Regions from separate parts of the Homo sapiens genome. Here region 1 is linked to region 2. The links are contacts of gene promoters, found by promoter capture Hi-C in blood cells and fetal thymus (Javierre and others, 2016). All regions are on one chromosome and are shown on one strand. The core of a region is centred on a gene start or on the middle of the fragment in contact, and the rest is flanking DNA. Distances in the headings are between cores, read along the strand shown. Region 1 overlaps ZHX3 (zinc fingers and homeoboxes 3). Region 2 holds the start of TOP1 (DNA topoisomerase I).

Region 1 (3,512 bases), core at 158-2,657, 260 kb after region 2:
ACAGAAGTCACAACAAATCTTAAAAATATGTGGAAGTAGATGAGAAATGCTGCCAGAGAAAGGCAAATTCAAAATGACACAAATGTTGCAGAATTAGGATTACGGCAGCATCTCTAAGAAGATGCTAACACCATGTTAGTACAGGATTGGAAAGGGTGGCTGCATCAACTTTTTAAATCTCTTCTAACGAAGACGCAGTAATTATGATAGAAATGACTACACTCTTCTTTGTTAATAATTCAGCAAGCACAGAGCATAAGTACCATATGAAAGCTGTGGTTACATAAATAAAAGATTGATGGACAAGAATATATATATACTATATATTTTGTGGGTTTGGAATATATGTGTGTATACGTATACACACATACATGTATGACACACGTGTTTGTGTATGCATATGTATACACACACAGATATAAGTTTATATATGTATATATTCAAAACCTACAAAAGTTTTTGTATGGGCCATCAATTAAAAGTAAAGCATGAATCTAAAAAAAATGCATTTTTGAGCAATCAGGGAAATTTAAATATAGACTGAGTATTAGATGATATTAAAGAACTATTGTTATTTAGGGGTAAGTTAATGGCACTCTAGTTGTTTTTAAGTTCTATCATTCAAGCCTGGCAAGGTGGCGTGCACCTGTAATCCCAGCTATTTAGGAGGCTGAGGCTGGAGAACCGCTTGAGCCAGGAGAGTTCAACACCAGCCTGGGGAACACAGCAAGACCTCATCTTTAAAAAAAAAAAAAAAAAAAAAAAAGAGTTCTATAATTCAATTACTATTAATACATCCAAGTCATTTCATTTTCAATCTGGATTGAATATTGGCATTATTGCTTATTTTTTATGAAAATAGAGCAGCTGAATTGTCAGTGTCAAAGCTTTGGGGTTTTTTGCTGTTGTCTTTATCCTCCGATTGGGACTTTTGAATTTAATGTCTAGTTACAGGATTCAACTTTTGTGACACATTAGGAAGACACTGTCTCTAATATTTAGGAACCAGAATTATCTGAACATATTAATCAACAGTATACAGAACTGTCCTGTCCCACTGACCAGGTCACAATGAGCTCTACAAAATAAACAAGTGCAAATGCTTTGTTGTCTAAACTTCTTTACTTTCTAACCAATGCTTAATAGTAATTTTTTTTTGAAATGACCAAAAAAGTATGGGTCACAGTGCTGTTTGCCATGTACAAAGGGCAAGAGAAAAGCACCTCTCCCCTAAGCTAAAAGATTAAAAACTTGGAGAAAAGGGAGTTCAGGTGATCACGAACTCTCTACTCTGTGTTTCTACAGAACTCACTTGCTCATCTACGATTCAAAAGCTGCCCTTTGCATGAGTACCTTTCAGTTTAGGAATGTAATTTCAACAGTGCATCCATTTTATCCAAATTCCAATAGAGTAAGAAAAAAATTGGATGCTCCATAACATTTCTTATAAAAGAATTTTATCAGTAACACTGTACTTTCTAGCCAATGCTTAAAAAACTGTTGACTGTCTCTTTTCTGTAACTTTCTGGTATGTGAGAGTATCTCAGATTAATAACTCAAAAAAACAGTATACACAACCACTTTATCAGATGTCCAGATGACAAGAAACTTGAAAAGATACTAAGTATGTTGGGTAACAGCTTGTCTGGCTAGAATAAAAGGTCCAATTGAACATACACAGAGGTGTGCCACCATTTGGAAGCTGGCAAGACAGCCCTGCTGTTGTTTTCTTCATCTACCTAGTGAGATGGGAGACGCACGTTTGATTATAGGGTGTCAAATACCGGCATCAGATAGTATCTGCTGGGGGCTCTGATGGGTACAGCACAGCTACCCAAATACCAAAGGATTTGCTTTCATGAACAACTTTCCCCAAGAACTGTGCCCTGCTACTCAAAAGATGATCAGGGAGACCCACAACATCAGCACAAGCTTAGAGAAAACTTGTTACAAAGGCAGAAGCTCTGCCTCACCCAGACTTTCTGAATCAGAATCTGCATTTTAACCAAATTCCCAGGTAATTTGTATGCACATCACAGTTTGAAAAGCATGGATTTAGAGGATTATTGTCAGTTTGGAAGGAGGTTTCCACAAAACTCTTCCTTGGGCCCCTCCTGTTCCTCATTTTTACTGATGAGTCACATAAGGATATTGAAGAACCCTCATCAAATCCCAAGTAACACTAAACTAGAAGGAAACAATTGCAAAAGCACCTCTTGGAAGAGACCAGGCTTGACAGCTGATCACGTAAAAGAATATAAACAACCAGAGATTTGCTAAAGAAAAAAAAAAGTAAGGCACACTTGAGTATACTGCTACAAATCAGACCACTTCTAGAGAACTAGCTATAAGTCTGGTCACACATTCTAAGTGACTGACAGTGAACTGTGGTCACACAGTTTGGTGAGAAACAAGGAGGGAAAGGGATCTGGAAATTCTATCGAAAAGAATGGCTGAACTGAAGGATCTTAAACCTGAAGAAGAGGTGACAATGTGGGGACATCATGGTCATATTCACACATCTGAAAGATTGTCTCAAGACATTTCATTCTACAAATGTGTTTTTGAGCATCTGCTATGTGCCAGGCACCATGCCAGGAGCTAAGGATACAGAGAGTGAAAACCAGAACAGATCTCTAATTTTCTGATGTTTCTTGCCTAATGGAAGAAACCTGCCTGTTTTTCCAGAAAGCACAACTCCAGACAATCAAAGGCAAGTGGAAGGACATGGGCACCATTCAAGGAAGCCCCTTCTGGCCAGAAGGCTACAGCTTTGTAAAGAAGTGAATAGACAAAAGTTCCGAGGCTCCCCAGGGCTGGAAAGAATGAGTTAAGAAAGGATGACCACCTCCCAGGGAGTAGTAGCTCAGGGGACTAACAGGCCAATGCTAATATTCCAGGGCTAGAGGATGCTTGGGGTCAATGACATTAATCCAAGATTTGTTTAGAATTATGCTACATTCAATTTAGCTGACAACAAAATTTTTAAAACTTAACAATTTAGAATTAACAGCTAAATTTTGTATGTAAATGATGTCATACCTTAAACTTATGAGTAAATGATGTCTAAGTTCTCATTTAGTAATAGTTTGTTGTTGTTGCTGTTTTGAGATGGAGTCCCACTCTGTCTCCCAGGCTGAAGTACAGCGATATGATCTCGGCTAACTGCAACCCCTGCCTCCTGAGTTCAAGTGATTCTCCTGCCTCAGCCTCCCGAGTAGCTGGGATTACAGGCACCCCCCCACCACACCTGGGTAATTTTTGTATTTTTAGTAGAGATGGAGTTTCAACATGTTGGCCAGGCTAGTCTCGAACTCCTGACCTCAAGTGATCCATCCACCTCAGCCTCCCAAAGTGCTGGGATTACAGGCATGAGCCACTGTGCCCAGCCTTAGCAATAGTTTTTAAAACCTAAGATTTAATAAAAATCCACATTATTTATTGATTGATTTTTTGAGATGGAGTCTTGCTCTGTTGCCTAGGCTGGAGTGCAGTGACACAATCTCTGCTCA
Region 2 (3,231 bases), core at 506-3,005:
ACATCTAATGGTAAACATGTGATGGTAAACATTAGATGTGATAAAGATACTGATGGTCCACTGGATGAACAGTTTTCATATTTACTTCCAAATGATTTCATAGATATTATTTCACAGATAACACTTAGGATGAAGGTAAATAAAAAGGAGATCAATTAAAATATGAAATAATAATAGTGAAAGTGGTAATAGATGTGGCAATATCCACAAAGGAGTAATGGTTAGATTAGCATATTGAGAAGATCACTTTGGCAATTGTTGGAATGCAGTTTACGAGAGGGCCAAGAATGGAAGCAGCAATCCCTGTTAGAAGTGTAGTGTTTTGGAGTGCGGTGTTTTTTGTTGGTTTGTTTTTTGTTTTTTTTAAACCAGGTCTCACTCTGTTGCCCAGGCTGGAGTGCAGTGCAGCCTCGACCTCCTCCTCGGGCTCAGGTGATCCTCCCACCTCAGCCTCCCGAGTAGCCGGGACTACAGGCACATGCCACCACACCCCGCCAGTTTTTGTATTTTTTTGTAGAGTCAGGGTTCTGCCATGTTGCCCAGGCTGGTCTTGAACTCCTGGGTTCAAGTGATCTGCCAGCCTCGGCCTCCCAAAGTGCTAAGATTACAAGTGTGAGACACCACCCCCAGCCAGCACATTGTATTAATCCAAGCAGGAGAACGCAGACTTCAAAGGCTTATGGGCAGCAGAGAGAAGTAGATGAAGCAAAGAGATGCAATCAGCGGGACTAGTGGGAAATGAGGGAAAGGAAGGTGTCAGGATGGGGCTTTTTCTAGCTGAGTGGAGTTCAGTTCATTCCCAGAGAAGCTTGAGAGGTATCCAACTATAGATGCAAGGTAGCTGGCTGTTGGTCCCTTGTCTTTAGGACAGTTTGACTTTTGTAATACAGGCGACCTCACAGAGCTATTGTGAGAATTCAGAGCTGGGCACAGAATAGATGCTCTATAAACGGTAGTTCTATTCCCCATTTGCCCCGTCCTCCCAGCATGCCAGGGATACAGGGGCGGATAGAGACAGGTTCAGTTCCCTTTGGTCTCTTGCATTCCCCCTTCCCTCAGCACAATTCCTGGGCTCATAGCGGATGCTCAATAAGTATTTGTAGAATGAACCAAAGAAATCAGACCCTTGGTGACCCAGGGCTACATGTACTCGGCGGAAAACTGGGGTTAAACCGGACCCTTGGTTGGTTGAAAAATTAAAATAATTTTTAAAAAGTGGGCGTGAAATAATCCAGAAGTTGGAGGGCCTGGACAAAGGCTGGGGAGGGGACTCCTCCCACCAGGCGGCCTCAGGGTCGGCTTAGCAAGAAAGGAGGCGCTGGGGAGACCTCTGGGGTCCCAGCTGCCAAGGTACTCGCCGCTCCAAGGAGATGCGGACGCCGGATACCAGCTCTGCCCAAGATTGCTGGGTCCCGCCGCGGCCTTTAAAGGCCCACCACGTGGCTGCGCGGCCAGCCCTGGTCCGGAGGCGGTGCCCGGGTGGCGCCTGCGCACTGCCTAGCAGAGGGGCTGGGGTTCCGAGAAAAAGCGTCTGGAGAGGAAGGGGAGGCTGCTTGGGGTGGGACGCCGTGGGAGGAGTCGGCTCCTTATGCAAATCACAGCGGAGCGCGCACGGTCCGGAGGCGGGGCTTGCGATGCAAAGACAGGTCCGTCTGGCGAACAGCGAGGGGGCGGGCCGCAACCCTCTGCCTCTTTCCGCGAGCGCTGACGTCGCCGACGTGTTGTTTAAAAGCGGCCGCGCAGGCGCAGTGAGCCCAAATGCGAACTTAGGCTGTTACACAACTGCTGGGGTCTGTTCTCGCCGCCCGCCCGGCAGTCAGGCAGCGTCGCCGCCGTGGTAGCAGCCTCAGCCGTTTCTGGAGTCTCGGGCCCACAGTCACCGCCGCTTACCTGCGCCTCCTCGAGCCTCCGGAGTCCCCGTCCGCCCGCACAGGCCGGTTCGCCGTCTGCGTCTCCCCCACGCCGCCTCGCCTGCCGCCGCGCTCGTCCCTCCGGGCCGACATGAGTGGGGACCACCTCCACAACGATTCCCAGGTACGGCCCGGCCTGACCCTGGCGGCCCCGGACCCCGGCCTGGCCGTCCCGCGACCCCCGGCGCAGGCCCCGACCCCAGCCCCGGCCCGGCAGCTTTGACAGGCCGGAGCCCCCGGTGAGGGGCCGCCTGCCGGAGTAGATCGGCTCGCTAGGCCGCGAGCGAGGGCCGCGAAGTTACAGTTCGAGGCAGGGATGGCTGCCCTCTGTGGCCACCCCCGGGTCCCCGTCCTCCCCGGGGGCGCAGGGTGAGCCAGACCCCGGCCGCGCGCGCTCGCCGCCGGAGGGGTTAAAGTGGCTGTTGTTTGATATTCTCTCCTTTTCTTTTTCCAGATCGAAGCGGATTTCCGATTGAATGGTGAGTGTGCCCCCTGCGCCGACTCCGGGGCCCCCCAGCCGCCGGCCGCCTCCCCCGCGCCCTGCCGGTGCCGGGCAGAGGACAGACATGGCGTCCCAGAGACTAAGTCCCGGCTCCTCGCTCACCGGCCCCATTGTTCCCATCGGGCCGCCTCTTGACCCCCTTTCCGGGGACCCCAGCTCCTCCAGATCCCGGCCCTCCCAAGAGGGGACAACGGAGACCCCGTGTCGTCCGCCACCGGGCCTCGGGCGGTCTTTCCGGGCCGGGATTCCTCCCGGGAAAGTCGCCTTGTCGACGGTCGGGACTTAGTCTCTGCGCCATTTTCTTTTTCTCTCTCCTCTCCTTTCTGTGCCTGTGTCTCTTTCTCTCCCTCCCTCGGCTCTTTCCTTGAGCTGCCCAGAATGAGCTTTCTGCAGAGCAAAGCCGTATAAATCACATACTTCACCAGAGAGGGAAGGCTGGGGGACTGAATTATTATTTTTTAAACTTTATTTTGGGGGTTATTCCCTTTATGCTTCATGTTTGTTTCCTTTTCTGCTTCCAGAATGAAAGATTTCCTTAAGCAACTGTTAATTTTTTTTTTGATAGGCTGTTTATGATAGGAATTATGGCTCTAAAACTAAAGCCACGCTTTGTGGAGTTCTTTATATTTCCAGGTTGTTTTTCCCAAGTTACGTTCTTTGCAAAGGTAGCAGTACCTCCCTAAAGAAAGTTTGCAAGTTCTCTGTGGGTCACCCAATGTAAATGTTGGATTTTTAAAAAATTATGTTAGTCACTGGAACTTTTCATTGTGGTCGAGGTTCCCAATGCAGTGTTTTTCTGGAAACGCAGTTTAGTGTACT

The links. Contacts are between HindIII fragments. The CHiCAGO score rates a contact against its expected background, and 5 or more counts as called.
Region 1: a fragment that was not itself captured here is called in contact with the fragment with the promoter of TOP1 in region 2 in 1 of 17 cell types (naive CD8 T cells); the score reaches 5.2 in naive CD8 T cells.

What each region holds. Positions count from the first base shown.
Region 1 is chr20:41,291,272-41,294,783 of GRCh38, forward strand. All of the region lies in intron 1 of ZHX3 (zinc fingers and homeoboxes 3), which reads right to left. Among named protein-coding and RNA genes, the nearest start is that of ZHX3, 25 kb to the right of the region's middle. The HindIII fragment of the contact is 1,045 bases long and covers 886-1,930 here.
Region 2 is chr20:41,027,067-41,030,297 of GRCh38, forward strand. TOP1 (DNA topoisomerase I) reads left to right here and starts at 1,756. Exons shown (of 21, transcript NM_003286.4): 1 at 1,756-2,034; 2 at 2,365-2,389. The coding sequence starts at 2,002. RefSeq lists silencers at 1,455-1,806, 2,027-2,096. The HindIII fragment of the contact is 6,355 bases long and covers 807-3,231 here.